Regions from separate parts of the Homo sapiens genome. Here all the other regions are linked to region 3. The links are contacts of gene promoters, found by promoter capture Hi-C in blood cells and fetal thymus (Javierre and others, 2016). All regions are on one chromosome and are shown on one strand. The core of a region is centred on a gene start or on the middle of the fragment in contact, and the rest is flanking DNA. Distances in the headings are between cores, read along the strand shown. Region 1 overlaps FBN1 (fibrillin 1). Region 2 overlaps FBN1 (fibrillin 1). Region 3 holds the start of FBN1 (fibrillin 1). Region 4 has its middle 73 kb from the start of DUT-AS1. Region 5 overlaps FBN1 (fibrillin 1).

The links. The method cuts DNA at HindIII sites, captures the fragments that hold promoters and counts their contacts. A CHiCAGO score of 5 or more calls a contact.
Region 1: a contact is called between a fragment that was not itself captured here and the fragment with the promoter of FBN1 in region 3, in 1 of 17 cell types (endothelial precursors). The highest score is 5.4, in endothelial precursors.
Region 2: a fragment that was not itself captured here is called in contact with the fragment with the promoter of FBN1 in region 3 in 1 of 17 cell types (endothelial precursors); the score reaches 8.1 in endothelial precursors.
Region 4: a fragment that was not itself captured here is called in contact with the fragment with the promoter of FBN1 in region 3 in 1 of 17 cell types (megakaryocytes); the score reaches 6.7 in megakaryocytes.
Region 5: a fragment that was not itself captured here is called in contact with the fragment with the promoter of FBN1 in region 3 in 1 of 17 cell types (endothelial precursors); the score reaches 5.0 in endothelial precursors.

The regions. Positions count from the first base shown.
Region 1 is chr15:48,421,824-48,425,279 of GRCh38, reverse strand. FBN1 (fibrillin 1) reads left to right here. Exons shown (of 66, transcript NM_000138.5): 61 at 3,212-3,328. Among named protein-coding and RNA genes, the nearest start is that of DUT-AS1, 92 kb to the right of the region's middle. The HindIII fragment of the contact is 2,918 bases long and covers 748-3,456 here.
Region 2 is chr15:48,437,850-48,442,162 of GRCh38, reverse strand. It overlaps FBN1 (fibrillin 1), which reads left to right. Exons shown (of 66, transcript NM_000138.5): 50 at 317-442; 51 at 4,246-4,313. Among named protein-coding and RNA genes, the nearest start is that of DUT-AS1, 110 kb to the right of the region's middle. The HindIII fragment of the contact is 2,099 bases long and covers 1,461-3,559 here.
Region 3 is chr15:48,643,350-48,647,912 of GRCh38, reverse strand. It overlaps FBN1 (fibrillin 1), which reads left to right and starts at 2,204. Exons shown (of 66, transcript NM_000138.5): 1 at 2,204-2,338; 2 at 2,963-3,307. The coding sequence starts at 3,144. It overlaps FBN1-DT (FBN1 divergent transcript), which reads right to left and starts at 2,108. Exons shown (of 2, transcript NR_183872.1): 1 at 1,083-2,108. RefSeq lists enhancers at 2,040-2,129, 1,642-2,166 and silencers at 2,240-2,319, 2,360-2,539, 2,950-3,079, 3,180-3,229. The HindIII fragment of the contact is 7,208 bases long and covers 1-4,563 here.
Region 4 is chr15:48,402,613-48,407,224 of GRCh38, reverse strand. No RefSeq gene overlaps it. Among named protein-coding and RNA genes, the nearest start is that of DUT-AS1, 73 kb to the right of the region's middle. The HindIII fragment of the contact is 5,889 bases long and covers 1-4,554 here.
Region 5 is chr15:48,456,354-48,459,870 of GRCh38, reverse strand. It overlaps FBN1 (fibrillin 1), which reads left to right. Exons shown (of 66, transcript NM_000138.5): 44 at 3,109-3,234. Among named protein-coding and RNA genes, the nearest start is that of DUT-AS1, 130 kb to the right of the region's middle. The HindIII fragment of the contact is 2,473 bases long and covers 1,031-3,503 here.

The sequences.
Region 1 (3,456 bases), core at 957-3,456, 220 kb after region 3:
GACCTGCTCTACAGGCAGGAGGTGCTTCCCTGGGGTTAATGCCTCCATGGGACCTACCTCCTGTGCTGGAGGGAAGGAGGCTAAAGCCAGGGAGATTGTGGAGGAAGCAGCTGTCCTTGCTGCATGCCCCCTGGGCATCCATGGTGGCCATCCATGACTGTCTCAGAGATAGCAGGGCCAGCTTCAATGGCTCTGGTGGGGCAGATTCTTAATTGGTGACCTCCTCTCTGCTTTCTGTTTTTTGTATTTATTCTTTATAGCTATATAGTTCAGGTTTCCAGGAAGGTCCTGCCTCGGAATAATCAGTGCCATGATCGTAGAGGACATTGTGCCTAATGAATTAGATGCTGTGTCCAGATTTTTGTTCTGCAGAAAAAGTCTATTTCTGCCCTGTAGGAGCTTCCCTGAGACATAAATATCACACAGAATTAAGAACCAGAAAAGCTCTGGGCAGAAATCCCTTCTCAACCAGAAGTTATCCTTTGCAAAATTTTTTTGGTTTAATTTTACTCCTGTAAACATCTTCCTCCACAATAAGAACATTATATTTAGTGAATAGCACTAGTGAGTCATACTTAACAATAATTTGGGAAATCAGAGATTTGGAGAAGAAAAGATAGACCAAGTGGTAGAGCAAGAGATATCATGTCATGCCATGAAACTTTGAAGGAAATTTATAGAAACATACAGAAGTAAGGAAGGTAAAGGATAGAGTGGAGTCTTTTTCCTATTTTTTCTCATAAAGCTTAAGTTCTTCCACTTACTTGGTATATATAACTAAATATCAAATGAATGATGCAGCTGTGTGTACCACTGAACTGAGAAGAGGCTAGAAGGGTGGAGGGTGGGACCAGCACATCCCCACGGAGGATCCAGATTGGAGGAGAGGAGAGGAGAGAAGTGGAGAGCAGAGAGAAGTTGGGCTCTTGACCTCTTTCCTGTGTCTGCTGAAAGGGAGAGTTAAGAGACATGTAATAGTGGATGACATCATGGGCAAGTGCCTGAGGCCTTCCTGTGCAGCACAAAGCCTGTATAATCCTGTAGTTTGGGGAGAGGAAGTTGAGAGACCTACTTACACATTCTAAACATCTTAAATGAAGTCGCTCATAGCTTTGTTCTTCTCAAATGTGGAACTTATTTTACATCTGGGGTCACTGTGAGTTCTAGGCAATGTGAAGCTATAACTCAGAGCCATAAATTTATTCATATAAATGAAGAACCAAATTCAAGGGGAAAATATCTCTCATTGTATATATTATCTGTAACAAGCAAAACAAATTTATAGCATTTTTTCTAACCTCTGGGGGCAGAAAATTCTCAAAAGTTTCCAGCAATTAAAAGATGAAAAATGAAAATGCATCAATAAAGTTCTCTTTATGGCTTTAGGAGTGCAAAGAGCAACTGTAATTTTTACATGTCCACTCACAACTTGTCCCTTTTCCTGTTTTTTCCCATAAGGTTCAAATTCTTCCACTTACTTGGTATATATAACTAAATATCAAATGAATAGTGCAGATAGTTGCACCACAGTCACTGAGAAGGAGGAAGCCAGAAGGGTGGCCGTGGGAGCAGCACATCCCCAGTGAGAGATGGGTAGAATGCAGATTAGAGGGGAGAAGAGGAGGAAGGGCATCTTGGAGGCAAGAGCAGCAAGTGCTGCTGTTCTTCATGTGTTGTACTCATGAAATGGTGTTAGGAGAAATCACTGAGTCATCTTCCTCACCTGTTGCAGGTGAGCTTCAGCAAATGTGTCATGATGCTCCAGCCAAGCTCCTTGGGCCATAGACAGGGGAAACCAGTCCACAGACTCTGAGAAAGCTGAACAGAGAGTGCATATCAGTCAAGATCTCAGCAGTGGAAAGAGCACAGGACAGGCAGCATTATAAGAGAAGCCGGAACTAGGACAGGTCTCGGGAGGGTCTCTCAGTGTAGGTCCACTCCAGATGTTACTCTAGCCAGGAACTGGCCCTGTGGAGTGGAAGCAGTCACTGGCAAAGCTGGCACTGATCTGCAGCTCCAAAGCAGTTGTGCAGATGGTGAGGGCATAGTGGTTGAATTTGTGATAAAATAAAGTCACTAATGTTTTTTCCTGAATATGCGACAATTTTAAAATTATCATTAAAGTTTAGCTAGAAGCTAGAACACAACATTTCATCTCTTGGTATTTTGAAATAACATTGGAGTTGAGAATGCAACTTAGAAGTTGAGGCGTTGAGAAAAGAGGCCTGGTCAAAGCAGAGGGTTTTATTGAGATGTGGGAAACAATGTTGGATAAACACTGCAGGCAGTTGTCAGTTTTGGATTTTTGTTTTTTTTGTTTTTTGTTTTTTGTTTTTGTTTTTGTTTTTGTTTTGAGACGAAGTTTCACTCTGTTGCCCAGGCTGGAGTGCAGTGGTGCGATCTCAGCTCACTGCAACCTCTGCCTCCCAGGTAGCTGGGATTACATGCACACACCACCACACCCAGCTAATTTTTGTATATTCACTAGAGACAGGTTTTGCCATGTTGCCCAGGCTGGTCTCAAACTCGTGAGCTCAAAGTGATCAGCCTGCCTTGGCCTCCCAAAGTGCTGGGAATACAGGCATGAGCCACCACGCTTGGCCTGGAGGCAGTTTTATTAAAAGTGCCTTTAGCTATTAAAATGAATTTTTCCTTTGCTTTGTTTCCTTCCTGATTGCTCAATTTTGGTTTATCCTAAGAAGAATCACGACTAAAGAAATCAGATTTTGTTTTTGATGACTTCATTTGAGTAGATTAAAAACAGCAAACAGAAGAGAACTAAGCCAGCAAATTCATTTCCAGCTTCAACATTTCTCTTTATGTTTTAACTTAAATAGATCTTTTCAAAGCTCTGGAAAATTTGCAGAATCATTCATCTTTCGCTTCATTTAAAAATTTGTTTAAAATGTCATGATTTATTTGAAATTCCTTTGTTGAGGAATTCCTGCATTTCTCCAATTAGAATTGTGTTTTCTTGGATCCCCTAAAGATCTCTTTATATTTTTTTGAGGGGAGGAGGGTCTAAATTGACACCTTGTTTTATCTTTCAGATCTTTACCCCCTGTGTCTCTCCTTGCCTTTTGCTGTGGCTTCTTTCTAGTCAGGGTCATTTGAGACCTCCAAATCAAACGTGGAGCTGCTTCATAGGGTCAGCTTCCCTGATCCTGTTTTGTTGGCTTGACTCAAATGCCTCTCTTGCATTTTCTTGTAGATCTTGATGAGTGTGCAACCAAGCAACACAACTGCCAGTTCCTATGTGTTAACACCATTGGCGGCTTCACATGCAAATGTCCTCCCGGATTTACCCAACACCATACGTCCTGCATTGGTGAGTAGGAGAGGAAAAAATCCTACATGGATTGTAGCGATTCTTTTAAGGGATTATTTTCTATTTCCTCTGCTGTTGGGATAAGAAAATAAAAGCTCAAAGAAATATATGAGTGCATGTATGTGTGA
Region 2 (4,313 bases), core at 1,261-3,760, 210 kb after region 3:
GGCCTAGGGTACTATGAAATTACTCTGACTTTTCTAGTTAGCCAAGCAACTCAGTCTGGGTAAGAGACGTTTGTCACTGCACCCCTTAGAAGGCAGTTGCACATTCCATTTTTATATCAATAACTGTCAAAACTAATTCTTTTGAAGTCATGACAACCTAGAAGTCCAGTCCACAGTGTTATGGTACAGAAAAATACCTTTATTATTGTAAGAGTTTGGAAACTCAGTTGCCCTTTGTGTGTCCACATTGTGTGTTTGGTACCTGATGATGTCTCCATCGTGTTTTGACTTTGTTTGACTCATGTGATTCTTTTAGATATTGATGAGTGTGTCGAAGAGCCAGAAATTTGTGCCCTGGGCACATGCAGTAACACTGAAGGCAGCTTCAAATGTCTGTGTCCAGAAGGGTTTTCCTTGTCCTCCAGTGGAAGAAGGTGCCAAGGTAAGTGTCTTTGAAGGCTTTGGGCTTTCAATGCTGCATGTTTATTTGTGGTGGTCTTATTTTTCAAACATGGCAAAGCTCTGTTTCTTTGTGAACAGGAAGATGGAGAGTTTTCATTCACCCAGAGGTCTAATGATAACCATATGTCAGAAGGTTCATTTTCACTTTTAAGGTTAAAAACTCATCCATCAAGTTATGGTTGCTTATACAATTGTACTGACACATAAACCTCTCTCCCACTAAGAACACAAATGCTGATAGGCCCATCAGTGGGGAAACACCTTGAGCCACCGAAACAGCAAAGCCTGGGGGAAGTTGAGCTACATATCCCCTACCTCTGAAGAGATAAGCTGAAAAATGTGGGTCCAAAGTTAGACTTGAGACTGAAAAACTGCACATTAACCCATTTGCCCCCACAATATGGTAACCATCCCTTATATCACAAATTCTCCAAGAAAACAAAAATAAATTTAAACTGATCAGGATTCTTGCTGGGCCATTGTTCATTTTTAGGAATAATACTTGTCAACTATTTGAGTAAAGATTTTCAAGGGTTTGCCAATGACTTTCAAATTTTAAACAAAAATCAAAAGGATCCTGAACTTTGGCATAACACAGTATGTACTTAAGTCCCAGAAAACTGTTTAGACTTTTCTAAACAATACAGTTGTGTATGGATATCTACATACACAAACTAGTTTCATGAATTCCGGGGAAGGGAGATGAAACAAACACATGTATTTCTTTTTTTTCCACTTGTAGCTTTTGTTGTTTGGTTGTTACTGTTGTTTTGATGTTGAGTTGGGTTTTTTTTTTTTTTCATGGTTTTTTGGTTTTGCTTCCGTATTACCAAATATGGAAGAGGCACTGGATATCATTTAAGGTTCAAAAAATTGAGTTTGGGGTCCCAGCCCTGCCATATTTAGTCTAGAGCAAGTCATTTAATCTTTTGGAAGCTCAATTTCCTCATTTTAAACAACAATAATATCTGCCCAACCAGCCTTACTGTGACAAAGCTTTGTTAGTTTCTGAGTCCTTTGTAGACTCTTGTTGTTATTCTAATGATCTGATTAACTTTTTACTTTTCAACTAGTTATTTGGGAAGTAAGAAGGAGAGGGTTGAGAGTTCTCCGGTTGATTTCAGCTTGTTGGTAGTTGTCAGTGGTCTGTGTGGATTTCAGGGTGGTGCTTAATTCGAACAGATATTCTGCATGGTACAGACCAGTCAGATAAATTCTAACTCCTACTCCCTTGTTTTTGTGTGCCTTTGGCTTGGCCTGAATTTGGAAAGAAAGCAGTGAGAAACCAGGTGTGAATCTGCCGATGTGGCAGGCCAGAGGAAACTCCTAGGCTATTAATTCAATTTGCACTGGCCCATCACAGAGCAAGCTAACGCTGCAGGAAGAATCAGCCCAGCTGTGAGCAGCCCTGCCACATGCTCAGCTCCAGGAGGCAGAGCCAGAACTGAGGAATGCAAGCAGGGAAAGTGACTTTTGTAGTTCTGATGAAATTTCGAGGTCATTAAGGGCTCTTTGCAGATGGACTGGTAAACAGGCATCCCAGTGAGTCCTGAAGTATGTGGGCAAGCACAGCTCTCTTCCCCAATGCAAGACACCCTTGATTAATAAGCCAATTCTAGAGAATCACCACAAGCTAAAGTAAGTCTCCTACAGAGCACAGATTTTGCTGGAGCCAGGAAATTGAGAGCTGGGTTTTTCTTGTAAGATGACAAATTAGGAGTCAGACTTCTATTGCTCATGAAATGAGAAAATTCCACAGAACCGTGGATAATGTTTTTTAAAAAGCGAATGCCATGGGACTCAGGTGGACAGAGCCTGGCACAAAAGACCACAGGTGTAAATGAGCCACTCCCACTTGCAAAGTTCAACGAAGAGAATTTGCCACTTAGACTGACTCAAGACTTCGTGCATTTGAGTCTCTGTCTAATGCCAAGATTTTTTTTTTTCGGGGTGGAGTGGTGTGGGGGAGATAGAGCTGGGGTCTGGGACGAAGTCAGCTATTAAAGGAAAAGAGAATGAGAATTTTAATACACCAATATTACAACATACATATTTAAAGAAACACTACAAACTGGAAGACAAAGCAGAGTTAAGTTTTCATATATTTGTTGAGACATTTTTGTGAGTAGTCACTGAATTATATCTAAAGGTAGTTGGAGGCATAAATAACAAAAACAAGACTGATAAATACAAAACATTATATGTGACAAAGAACTTGAAGAATAAAAGAGATCAAAAGTGTTCTCCAAGAAACAAGAATTTGTTCAGTCTTGAAGTTTCTCAGCAAAGCAAACATTTGGGTGGCAGAGATGCCGCAGGATTGACTTTTATTGCTCTTGACCTTCAGAAGGATAATTCATTGAAAGGTGCTTGCCAGGTCCTTGCCACAACAGATGGGGAAGTGGAATAGAAATTAGAGAGATGATTTATCTGGATGAGTTGGTAGCCATGAAAGGTTGAGCAGGTTTACTGGGGAGGCTACCTGAATTTGATTTACATAACTTGGTAAATATAATAGATAGATAGATAGAAACTTTAATTCATGAAAACCTTTCCTTTGTTATCTCTGGCAACTCTGTTATTCCTACATTGTCTTCTTTGTCATGAAATAAAAGCTGGTGAGACTGTCTTAACAGAAGTGCTTAGGTGGTTATGATAGTATGGTTCCTGGGATTGAAAAACAGTGATGGAAGTGAATGAAAAAGGCAGAGGTGGTCAGATATAAAGAAAGAAGAATAGTACAATATGGGTATGAAAGCATTTCTTTTAAACCTGCAGATTGTGGCCTCTGTGTAATGAGAGGAGTTTTGGAAGGCTTTAAGAAGTCAAGTTCGAGGGAAAACACAGTCCATACCTCTGGTTGAGCTCACTTTTTGGAGTCAATGTGTTGTATGAGAAATGGAAAAGCCCGTTTCCAAAATTATGTCAAGCAATGTTGGAGAATTTTATAGGAAGTAGATCCCATCTTCTTTGTTGGAGTCATCAAAGCAATAATCAATATTGAAATATATTCTTTCAAAGAAAGACTATTCTGTTCCCACCCACCCACAGCCCTGCCCTCCTCTTCCTTCCCTCTCTGTGTTGAGCTAAACAAGCTTCTTTTAAAAATTTAACATTGACACAGCTCTGCATATGTGTGTGTGTGTAAAATCTACAAAAAGCCCCACTTGCATTTTGTAGCCAGCATCTCCGGGAGTATCTGCTTCAGTGACCAACCCTTGTGTTGTATTTTTGCCCATCTACAAAGTTGCCACTTCTGTATTTGTTCTGTGCCTGTGATCTGGGATTTTATTTTAGTTCCAGAGTTTAGGGGACACAGAATAAACCACAAAGTGTGATATCACAGTAAATATTAGAACTAAGAGGATTCTCTTACTCTAGTGTGCTCATTAAACATGATATTGCAAGCAGAGCTATCAATGAAGGAATCTTGTGAATGATTCCTTCTGTGGACTTTCCAATCCTGAAGTCACTGACAGATGTCAGTTTTGAAAACTGTCAGTTTTGGATTTTATTGGATTCACATCGGGTTACTTTGAAATAGTGACTAAAATGAGAAGTAATAAATTTAAGTTCATAGAGTTGTTCATCAGATCTCACTATACAAAAGATACCCATGACTTTAACAATCTCAGCTCAGTTACCATTAGAATCACGTAAGGAGTATTGCTGTGGTCCTGAGAGGAGAACATATATAACATAGTGGGTTGTTCTTTATTTGCTATGGTGCAATACGGACTCAGTAGGAAAGCAACTGAAGGGTGTCATAAATTTATGCTGCAGATTTGCGAATGAGCTACTGTTATGCGAAGTTTGAAGGAGGAAAGTGTTCATCACCCAAATCCAGAAAT
Region 3 (4,563 bases), core at 955-3,454:
TTTTTTTTTTTTTTTTTTTTGAGGCAGAGTTTCACTCTGTTCTGCCCAGGCTGTAGTGCAGTGGCACAATCTCCTCTCACTGCAATCTCTACCTCTCAGGTTCAAGCGATTCTAGTGCCTCAGCCTCCTGAGTAGCAAGATTTACAGGCATGCACCACCACACCTGGCTAATTTTTGTATTTTTAGTAGAGACAGGGTTTCACAATGTTGGTCGGGCTGCTATTGAACTACTGGTCTAAAGTGATCCACCCGCCTTGGTCTCCCAAAGTGCTGGGATTACAGGCCCAGGCATGAGCCACCATGCCCATCCTGGTGTCAGAATTTTTTTAAAGCCTCTTATTATTTTACTGCATAGCCAGGGTTGAGAACTGCTATCCTAAGTAGAGTCTAGTTATGTTTTAGACTTAAGTTAAATATCACTTCCTCAGGGATCCCTTTCCTGATCAGCCCTAGCCTAGGTCAAGTCCCCTTGTTATATATCCTCCAAGCAAGCACCCAGTACTTATCCTGTTTGGCGCTTAACAATTGGTCCATTATTTGTTTCAAGTCTGCCTTTCCTTGTTGACTACCTGCTGTGTGAGGGGAGACACATTTCTGCCCTTTTCACTAAATTGTTGAAGTCAGTCGTGTTCAAATTGTTGAACCTGCCTTGTTAAAATTGTTGAAGTCTAGTTCAACAATGCACTAAGTAGTACACAGTTCGTGCTCAGTAAAAACATCTTGAATGAATGATCTCCTTTACTCAGCCAGGAGTGTGTGACCAAGGCTCTCATTCATGAATCTGCTAAGAGACCTTTTGCAGGTGAGACCTTAAAGTACACCACATACATACTTACAGGACTATGGCTTTAGATCAGCTCATAGTTCCCACAGTTTTTCTGTTTCATCTTCATGTATCACAGCAGTTCAGCATGTCCATCATCACCATTACAACCCTGTGTGGTGGACACTACAAGTCCCATCTTGTATTTGGAAAGAAGTTGAATAACTTGCCCAGGTCTCTCTACCCTACTGTCTGGGCCCCTTTACAAACGGTTACAAATAAGGAAAATCCCTTTCAACAAGATACATTCCCAGGGTACCTGTTTGTGCTGAGCTTTTATTATTGGCTTGACAGCAGGCTGGTGGCTGCTTGCAGGGGATCTTCTGGGGGTCTCCAGTTACAGCAGCCAGGACCCAGTGTGCGACTTCAGGCCTTCCTAAACTGTTACAGGGTGCAGGCATCATTGGGCATTATCCATATAAGGATGCCACAAATACTATACCTTTCAAAGCCACTAAATTCACTGTGCCGCGCATATCCTGGGGAGAGGCAGCTGTGTGTGGGGGAGGGCGAGGGGACCGGGAGGGTGTAAGTAGAGTCCTCCAGATGAACCCCAGTCTTAATCTGGGCTGGGCAAGAGGACCATCCCTTCACCGCTCCCATCCTACATCCTAGGTTCCAACATTTACAGGCCCCTGGGTTGGACACCGACTTAGAGAGAGCACCCTGGATTCAGGCCTGGGTGGCTTGAATTGAGCCTCAGAAGAGCCGCGTCTGGAGTGGGCTCTCGACACCCAGGGCAAGTGGGGGCGGCAGAGCCCTCTCCTCGGTCGGCACAGCAGCCTCTGCCGCGGTCCCGGCCTGCGACGCGCCCAGTCTTAGCCTCCCGGCCTCCGGCGTCTGCTGAGTGTCCGGCGGGAGAGGCGCAGGGAGCGCGCTACCGGGAGGCGCGGGCAGCGGGGACTGGTTTTCTCTCGGGCCAGGGCCTCCGGGGCAACCGTCTCCAGCGCGCATTCTTGGTGCAGGTGGAACAGCTTTCTGCTCCGGTAGGGCTTCACCTATCGCGGGAGAGGTTAATCTCGGATCTAAACCTCGCAGCCGCAGAGCGGGCTAAAACCGCTACTCCACCTCTTCCCATTTCTCCCCTCCCCACCTCAAGACAAAAAGTCCCAGGCCGGGCAGGACCTGATCACCTCTGCCTCCTCCCACTGCGCTAATCCTGCGAGCGAGAGGCCCCGCACCGAGGCGGAGGCTGGCAAAGGGGAGTGGAAAGGGAGGATGGATGGGGCCGGGGGGTGGGGTGGTGATGAGGGCGACGAAGGAGGGGGTGTCATTTTCTTTTTCTTTCTTTTTTTAAAAAAAGTATTTCTCTCGCGAGAAACCGCTGCGCGGACGATACTTGAAGAGGTGGGGAAAGGAGGGGGCTGCGGGAGCCGCGGCAGAGACTGTGGGTGCCACAAGCGGACAGGAGCCACAGCTGGGACAGCTGCGAGCGGAGCCGAGCAGTGGCTGTAGCGGCCACGACTGGGAGCAGCCGCCGCCGCCTCCTCGGGAGTCGGAGCCGCCGCTTCTCCAGTGGGTGCAGCCGGGGTCCCGACGGGGGTCGGGCGGCCACCGGGGCTGGAGCTGCGGCCACGGAGGCTTTTGCGTTTGCGCCGCGCCGAGGGCAGGGACAGGGACTGGGGTGAGGGGCTGTCCCGGAACGTCCACAGCTGGCGCTGGCCCTCCCCTGCCTGACAGCTTCCTGGCCCGGGGCTCTTGGTGCCGGGCTCCGCGTCAGATGTTCGGGGGGCGGTGGCATCGCCCGGAGTCGGCGGGGACGGCGCGGCTGGCTTCCAGCCTGGCGGAGAGGGCAGGCTGAGGAGTGGGGCGTTCAGAGCGCGCATCGCGCGCAATTCGTGCCGCTAAAAAAAATAAACCCAGAGAGCTCGCCCGGGGCTTAGGACCGCTGGGGATATGGGTACTTTGCGCCGCGCTCTTCTGGCGGGGCCCGGGAGGCCGAGGGATCGGCCGGGGCTGCTGCCGCCGGGGGCCTGGGCTTTCCAGCCAGCTGTGGACCAAACGGTCTTCCCTTACCCAAATTAACTGCGCCACGCGCAGGCGGCGCACGGGTTGGGCTTGGGAATGGGGACCGCGAGGCTTCAGCATCCCGATGCCCTGAAAGTCTCCCCGCCTCGGGGATTTGTCTCTGTGTTGCAGCTGGCAGGGGCCGCCTGAAGTGGGAGCAGCGCCTGGAGAAGGCGGGAGGAGCCCGGCCCGGGGGACGGGCGGCGGGATAGCGGGACCCCGGCGGCGCGGTGCGCTTCAGGGCGCAGCGGCGGCCGCAGACCGAGCCCCGGGCGCGGCAAGAGGCGGCGGGAGCCGGTGGCGGCTCGGCATCATGCGTCGAGGGCGTCTGCTGGAGATCGCCCTGGGATTTACCGTGCTTTTAGCGTCCTACACGAGCCATGGGGCGGACGCCAATTTGGAGGCTGGGAACGTGAAGGAAACCAGAGCCAGTCGGGCCAAGAGAAGAGGCGGTGGAGGACACGACGCGCTTAAAGGGTAAAGGAACCGGTTCCCTCCTTTGGTGTGGGTCTCCCAAGTTTCAAGATCCAGAACAACGGGCAGGATGACTCTCCCTGTGGAAGACTCCTTGGCAAGACCTCCTGGGGGCACCTTAGAGGTGCTAGGGTTGTTTAGTCCCCACCCCGTTCGTGGTTAAACTACCTTGCCCCTACTCCCAGAGATTTCTGCCCCAAAGGAGAGGACGTGGTTAAATGGAATCTTGGGCCATTGTTGAGGCAGATTTTGGGAGGCGAGAAGAGTTCCTTGGGGAAGAAGGGGAGGAGTTGCGAGTGGGATAAGAGGAGAAGCCCGTTCCTTTCCCTGCAATATCAATTCTGGTTGTTTCTAGAGGAAAGTACTTTCCTTGGGGTCATCTTGGTAGATGCTGTATTTGAAAGGGGGCAAGGAAAGGAAGGGATTCCCATGACAGTCAGAGGAGAAATCACACAGTAGTTGACTCTTCCGTAAATTATGCTTATTAAAATTACGGATTGGGTTTTCTGGGCAATGCTTCCTTTAGATGTCTACATTGGAAGCAGAACAGGGCAAGTGGTTCTGAGAACTGGTTTTTTGAGTTGTGTGGGGCTCTCCGTTTCACTGCAGCAGTAAGGCTGCTGTGGCCGGCCTTAAGGGAGTATTTTTAACTAGTGGTGTTTGTGTTGTGTACATGCAACTGACCATTTCACTGGCTTCCCATGCCGCTGTTACAGATGTTTCAGCCGGAAAAATTTTAATTAGACTTGACTAAGGGTTGTCATTTTCCTGTATTGAAGGACAGTGGGAATACATTTCCTTTAAGAGAAATTTGTCTGCAGTTGTTTAAGTTAAAGCCTCCATGGAAACAACAGGATGGACTGTCAGTGACCCCTTTTATCTTCTTGGAGGAGCCTGTTAAATAAATTCAGACAGTATATATAGGGAGATTTTGTATTAAATTCTTACCATTCTCGCTGATGCTCTTTTCCTGAGTGGTTCTGTAGCTTTATTATATAGCTCTGGGTCACCAAGTGATGGTATCCACTTGGATATGTGGCTGTTCATTTCACTTACTCTTTTTTTGTTATGAGGTGTTATAGTCATGTATATGTAGTAAAATTTGTGTTTGTATGGCCCAGATATGAGAAGAAAAAGTAAACTCACCAGACCAGTTTTTGACTCCTAGTCTGGAGTAAGGACAAGATGATTGTATGAGCCAAGCACTTAGGCTGTGATAAAATAGCACAGAAAATAGTTATGATTAATTCGGTTCCATC
Region 4 (4,612 bases), core at 361-2,860, 240 kb after region 3:
TGGCTAGCTCCACCCTCTGCTATCTCTTCATTGTGATTTTTGATCTTTGTGACCATCCCCATTTCATAAATGAAGGCAAAATTATCCTCTCTGTGCTCCCCTGTGCCCCCTGTGGGTTGGTTATGGTGTCAGCTAGAAGGCATCAAGCCTTCCAAGTACTTCTGGAATCCATAGCTTGGGTTCAAATCTAAGCAACACAGAGGTGGAGATTTTAAGCAAAAAGCAGCTGCTCCATTGAGCATTTCCTAACTTTCATATCCCACCTGATGTATTCTTTGCAGCTGTGCTGGGAGTTGCAGAAATAAGAAGAGATCTGTTTCCTTTTTACCCTGAAATACTCTCTTGGGGAGAATTAAATCAAACCTACATGATCAACCTTTTTCTTCTCCTGGAAATGGAGACATTTGAAAACATCCTGATGATAATCACACATCCCATCAGTCCTACTAGACAGTGACAGAGGTCACAGGCCTTTGTAGTTGTGTCTACGTGGTGAACTCTGCTCTGCGTGGCCCCACCAGCTCTGCTATGGAGGCCAGACCTGTCAGAAAAGATTAATGAGACCTGAATATATCAGAATTTCCAAGGCTCAACAGACTAGATTGGGTTTGTGTCTGTGTATTTTTGTAACTACATGAAATCAGCACGATGTGCTGTTTAGCCTTTCTGTCTTCAGCTGTATGGAGATTATCCCTCTTTGGGCAGTCCCATGATCAGGCGGGGTGGCAAGCTCCTCCCTGAGGCCTGCTGCTTCCTGCGCCTTTGTGGCTTGGCTTCCGTGGGCTCTCTGGTGGGTCATTCACAGGAGGTGTGGTGCCTCCAGCTGGGGAGTCAGTGTGCTGTTTAACCAGCTCCCCAGGAGAAAATGGCTCCCGATCTCATGCCCACATGTTCACCCCCACAGGCCTCACCCCTACCAGGAGAGGACACGGAAGCCAGGTGCACCATCCTTAAAGGCTGATGCTTTCAGCCTTGATTTTTTTTTTTCCTAGCGTCAGTGATTCTTCATTTACAGAGCTTTGACCTTTCCGTGAGCTGCAAAGAAAGTTCACTGAGAGCTCATTTTGCTCCTGAGGAGTGCCTGCCTGAGAGTCCTGATACTGCAGGACATCTGGGGTCAGAAAGCTGTGCTCAAATCTTAGTTCCATCCCTTTCTAGTTATTCCACCCAGGGCAACTCCTTGATGTCTCTGAGCCTTATTATTGTGGATAATAGTAACACCTTCCCTATGTCCTTGCTGGACCATTATTACCCACTATATATAAAAGTCTAATACTTCTGTAGAACTTCACAGTTTTAACAAGCACTTGTGAACTGTGACCTCTGATCCTCAATCCTCACCTCAATCCTAGATTTTTATCATCCTAATCATGCACAAGTTGGGGTCTCTTGCCAAAGGTCTCTCACCCTAAAGAGTTGGAACTGAGAATAAAAACTCCAGATCTTCTGACAACACAGTGCATACCCAGTTCACTGTGCTTGCCAGAAGAATGAATAAAATGTAACACAAGAAAGTAAAATAGGAATCTGTAAGCTACAAATTATATTGTGATTCAAGATCTAGGCTTCTCTCTGCTCTTCTAGAAACCAAGAGAAGGCCAAGGAGAGAGTGGGCCATACCGTTGTCAGTCCTCTTGCTTCTCTGCTTGCTCCCCTCCCTCGCCCCTCAGTAAATCTCTTCATGGCCCCTGTAACCCGCTGCTGCCATACGAGGCCTCTGATGACAAGGACTAGGCCTGCTTTGTCCTCGTAGCTTTATCACCCAGCTCAGTGCCTGGCACATAGCAGGCACTTAATATGTGTTGAAAGGATCAATGACTGAGATTAGGAGAAGGAAAATAGGAAAAATCTCTGCAGAAGAGCAACCTATTTCTTCTATCTCTTCCTCTTCATCTCCCTCCCTTCGTTTTTCTGAAAAAAATATTTTCTGAGCACTTGCCTTGAGCCATCTGCATGAAGCAGTAGAGACAAAGATGAATGAAGCCAAGTTCCTAACGCAGAGGTACTTTCAAATAAGGGGTAGCAGAGCAGTTCTCTCCCAGCTATAGTCAGAGGGGATGTGAGCCTTTGAGGCTCTTGAAGGAAGTAGCAGGGTGTATGATCTTCAGTGCCTTGGTCCTAGAAGCCAGGAGGCAAGCTATGCTTCTGTACTATGTTCCTTCTGACATCTGTAAAGCCCCGTGTCTAGATCCTTATGAATCACTGAAATTAAAACACCCTTCTAACCTATCTCCCCCATGTAATGCTGTGGTAGTTTTCACATAAAATGGTGATTTTCAGTGGTGAGTTCATTTTTAAAGTTAAATTTCTATATTTAAATGAAACTTACTCTGAAATCCAATACATAAAATATAAGCAGGGCTTCGTGGGTTAAAGCCAAGCTAGGCAACCTGGAGACACTCACTGCCTCCAAGACAATTCTTATTAAAAATTATAACAGAGTGTGTGGGCTCATGCCTGTGATTTCAGCACTTTGGGAGGCTGAGGCAGGTAGATTGCTTGAGCCCAGTCTGGGCAACATAGGGAGACCCTGTCTCTACAAAAAATACCCAAATTAGCCAGGTATGGTGGCACATGCCTGTAGTCCCAGCTGTTGGGGAGGCCAAGGCAGGAGGATTACTTGAGCCTGGAAGGCCAAGGCTGCAGTGAGTCATGATCACACCACTGCACTCCGGCCTGGGCAGACATATTTCATACTGTAAAGGACCCTTTTTTTTTTTTTTTTTTTTTTTTTTGAGATGGAGTCTCGCTCTTTCGCCCAGGCCGGAGTGCAGTGGCACCATCTCGGCTCACTGCAAGCTCCGCCTCCCGGGTTCACGCCATTCTCTTGCCTCAGCCTCCCGAGTAGCTGGGACTACAGGTGCCCACCACTGCGCCCGGCTAATTTTTTGTATTTTTGGTAGAGACGGGGTTTCACCGTGTTAGCCAGGATAGTCTTGATCTCCTGACCTCGTGATCCGCCAGACTTGGCTTCCCAAAGTGCTGGGATTACAGGTGTGAGCCACCGTGCCCGGCCATAAAGGACCCTTTTATTTCGAATATAAGTGTGTGTGTATGTATATATATACATATATATGTAAAAACAATATACATATAAAATGTATATGTATGATTGATTCTACGAATAGAAGAGAAAAATAATATATAAAGTTAACTTTTTTCATTTTTTGAGATGGAATTTCACTCTTGTTGCCCAGGCTGGATTGAAATGGCACAATCTCAGCTCACTGCCACCTCTGCCTCTGGGTTTCAAGCGATTCTCCTGCCTCAGCCTCCCAAGTAGCTGGGATTACAGGTGCCCGCCACCACGCCCAGCTAATTTTGTACTTTTAGTAGAGACGGGGTTTTTTCATGTTGGTCAGGCTGGTCTCGAACTCCCGACCTCAGGTGATCCACCCATCTTGGCCTCCCATAGTGCTGTGATTACAGGCTTGAGCCACTGTGCCAGGCCATATAAAGTTATTTTTAAATATTGGTACTTAAACTCTAAGCCTTTGGTTCTTAAATTAGGAAGTTATAAGCATTTTTATGATATTTATATGTGGCAGGAATGGACTACAAGCTCACCAACCCTGTATTTTTTCTCCTGGGCCGCAGAAAGATGGCATATCCTAACTTCTTCTGCAGTTAGGTTGGAGCTGGGTGATGTGATTCTAACCAGCGGGATGTCAGGAGGTGTGATGTATACCATTTTCAGGTCTAGCTGAGAAAACACTTATGCAATCATCCACACTCACAAGAAATAAACTTTCTCGTAGTAAACCATTGATATCTGGGGACTCCTTGTTGTACCAGCTATATTAATTACCCTCATACAAATAAATAATAAATAAATAAATATTCTCCACTTTTTCACTATAAGGAATCCACAGCAACGGTTCTCAAACTTGGTTGCATGTTAGAACTGCTTAGGATGCTTTTAAAAAGAATCCCAGTGTCCTGACTGCACCCCAGACCAATTAATTCAGAATCTGGATTTGAGGTTCAGCCATTATCAGTTTTAAAAGCTCTCCAGTTGACTGCAATTTGCAGCCATGGTTAAGAAACACTTTTCTAAATCTTTAGATAACACAGATGAGGGTGTTTTCTTGGGGAAATCCACCATTTAATTCTGGTATGTGCCCTTCCACTATTGTTACCGCAGTCTGCAGGACATTGTGTTATCACCTAACAATATTAACCATGCCATTTCCTGACTCTGTGAGCTGTGTTTTTACTGGAGTTTTGCGGCATGTCATCAGTAGACAAGAATTAAGCAGCAGTGAGGCGTGGATGCTGCCAGGTGGTTTCCTGCATTAACCAGCTACCTGACTCCTCTCACGCTAGCCTTGGGGCAAGATTATAATTCTTGCCTCCACACTGGGTAGTTCCCAGGGAGTCAGCGTGTCCAATGTGAAATCTGTCCACAGCAAAATACTGAAAAACTCCCTAAAATATACAAATCAGAAACAGGGCCCAGTTAACTGAAGCTGTCTCATATCACTTTTTACAAAACTGGAAAATAGAAATTAATTCTTTTGAAAAAAATAGTCCTCTGGAGTGAAAATAGAAGCTTTTTCTTTTCAAGAAGCTATCAGTTTCTGCTAAAAGTGTGCAGTGATGGGATACAGGC
Region 5 (3,517 bases), core at 1,018-3,517, 190 kb after region 3:
TCCTTACGTGTAGATTGTTTACATAAAGTCCTTTCGTGGATCAATTTTATCTTACATGGAATCTCCTCAGGTCATCTGCTTTGGGAATTTCAGATGTGAAATAAAAATCTTTTCGGTCTGAGGCCCTGCCTGGTAAATGAAGCAGAGAACACAACATTGGGAGAGATGCTTGTGCAAGAATCAGAAGTATTACACAGCACTCAGCCAGTGCAGGCAATGCCCTTGTGGTTTAAAACCAAATAACATAAAAGTAGATGGAAAGCTATTGCATTCTCTGAGTTTTTCCCTGGTGTGATTTATATGCATCCTTAGATGCCCTCTTAAGTCTGCACAGTTGTGTCTAGTAGCAAACATCACCACTTGCTTTATTCCACCTTATTCATAATAAGTAAACTAAAATCCACATCAGCCTTTCCAGTGACCTTGTTTAAGAAAACAAGAGTCTGGTCCAGCAATCAGCCTGGCTCCCTTAGTGCCAAATCCATATGGCTCCACAGTCTCGTCCACGTCCAAAGAAACTTCATGGTTTGGAAAGAAAAACTGCTAAATGACATTGGCATGGAACACCTGGCCCTAGCTGCTTTGTTTTTCCCCTTCCCAAAACAGATCTTTTAACCTCCCTAGAATCTGTGATCACAAGATAAGTGGTCTGTAATGGTAGTGGTTCTCCACGGACCAACCAGGCATGTACCCCAGCAAGGCTGCCCTCCAAGTTTGGCAGTAAGCAAAGACTAGAAAGAACATTAGCGTTGTCCACTAGGAGAGCTGGAAAGGCTTCAGACTTCATCTAGTCCAAATGCCTTGCTTCATATTTGAGGAGACAGAGGCCCAGAGAGGGGAAGGGACTCACCCAAGGCCACCCAGCTAATTAATAACAGAGCTGGGACCAGAACACAGTCCTGACTCATGGCTTAGTTTGCTTCTAGCTCTTGAAAACTGGACATCTGTTATTTAGCTATATGCTTATTGTTACCAAATTCCAGCATGACAAAATATTTAGATGACTGAAAAACTTTGTTTTATTTAAGCTTTATACTCTCCTTTTGGAAGATCTTATGATTGTTGGCATGTGGAGTCCATTCATATAGGGTTAAAACTATAGCATGTTTATCAATCTTGTCTTAAAATATAAACTTCACTAAGTTGAAGTTCAAATAAAATCCTGACAGGAAAAGAAAATATAATTTTTAATATATCCTTTTGCTATTTTATACCTAACAATGGCTGGAAATTAGACTCAGCCCGTTATTGTTAAACTTGATAATAATATATCACTTATATTTAAAACGAATGTGAATATGATGTTTCGTGTTCTAACCCACACTGAATGAATGGCATCTGAATTTGTTTTTTGTTTACTTATGATACACAGTTGTGATGTAACTTTATATGGCATTTTCATGACATGAATGACAAAGGTGTGAAAGATCTAAAGACATAATTGCGTGTATTCAAAATAGCAATGAACCCTTTGAGATTCTAAGCTGTTTCTTTTCATTAAATAGGTCAATTTTGCCTTCACACAAAATCAAGCCCTTTTTTAAAAAGGGTCTAAAATAAATCTATGACATCAAATTTCTCCTTTAAAACAGATTGGTTATAGAGTGTGGTTCTTCTAAAATTGCAGCAGCTCTTGTAGGCTCCACTTCAGTCCGTGATCATCTTCTCACAAGTATGCAAGCAAAGTATGTACCTTGCAAAGGCTCCTGACTATAATAAGTAAACAACGTATCTCAACAACAGTCATAGAAACTAGTGAATTGGAAGACTTTGGATTGTAGACCAAGGCTTTGCATACCTCCCAGCTGAGGTGTTTCATCAAACCCAGCCAAGGGGCTGATGGAAGGGCCCTCCAGGATAACAAAAGTGTTGATGACAGTTCTGTGAAGATTGTATTAGGGTGATGCAGGAAATCACCATAATACGATCTTCCCTTATATGATAAGGGAGGCAGGATGGCCTGTTAACTGAGTCCCAGTGTCAAATCCTGACTCTGCCTTTCATTGGCTGCTTGGTCTTGGGCAGGTTATATCCTGTGGCTTGGCCTCACTTGCTTCATCTCTTAGTTAGAATAGTCATAGTACCGAGACCATCTCATGGGGTGGCTGTGATAATTCAGCCAATAAATACAGGTTGAATGCTTGAGAAATGTACCAGTCATGCAGCAAATGAGATACTGTCACTATTAATACTATTACCATTATTACTACTATTACTACTCTTATCCTAGAGGGCACTTCAGTGGTCAGGAGTTCAGAGTGGGTAAGACAGAGATGGGACCACTCCAGGCTGGGGACATGGCCAAGCTGGTGAGGTGTCCAAAGTCTCTATCCATAGCTGGCCAGCCCTGCCTTAGCAGCCTGGATCCTGGCTGTGTTCTCACTCTTGGTCCTGTTTTAGTGCTCACCAACACACTGCCAGACACTTGCTCTTAACTGAACAAATTTGAATTGAGCACTTACTACCTGTCATGTAGAGTGCTAAGGAACCATAACACAGTGTTGGAGAGCCAAGCCCAACTCCCAGTCTTAGGAAGCACACATTCTACTGCGACAGTTCTTCCTTGGTGCTGACCTCGTTTTTATTGTCAGCCCCAGCCCAGCTGACATCCCCACACCTGACTTACCTCCTTTCTAAAGCCACATGAAGTAGGAAGGGGGAGTTAAACTGGAATTTGAAAGATCAGAGTTCCATATGACCATGTGCTCCTCTGTGGTTCTTTACCAGCTCACCTCTGCCTTTTTCCCTAAATATAGGCACACTTGGGTGGAGAGGCTGTTTACCCTTGACCATCCCTCTATTCTACTCATCTGGTGCATCCACAGTGCCCAGAGGATACAAAGATATCTCCTACCTGTACAAAATTGACATTCTGAAGCAAAACCCAGAACATATATTTAAATCCAGTTAGACTCATGTCTGGAAAGTGGTTTAGTTATCTCAATTTGCTATTCGTTGATGTCCCTATTGCCATCACCACCACCCCAACACATGCACGCACACACACACACACACACACACACACACGCACGCACTTTCCATCTTGTCTTACCCTGCACAGGGATCATGTGCTGTCCTGTCACTCATGAATGACTACTCTGTCTCTAGATATTGATGAGTGCCGGGAGATCCCAGGGGTCTGTGAAAATGGAGTGTGTATCAACATGGTTGGCAGCTTCCGATGTGAATGTCCAGTGGGATTCTTCTATAATGACAAGTTGTTGGTTTGTGAAGGTAAGTGGCATCATGACTTTATCATATCCAGAAAAGAGCTAACTGATGAGCTACTTGATACACACTTGGCGAATTTCACAACATTGAAATTTCAGAAATGCATTAAGCTCTAGAAATAGTAAAGGGCATGGTGTGGAACAACATGAAATTTCATGCAAAAAAAAAAAATTCACTAACTTCAGTGGAAAAACCAGGAGGCACATTCCCAGCCCCTTTCCCCCAACACACAGTGTGTTAATATTAGACTTCCCAGCTGATATGAAAAAGCTTTGAGTTCCTGGGT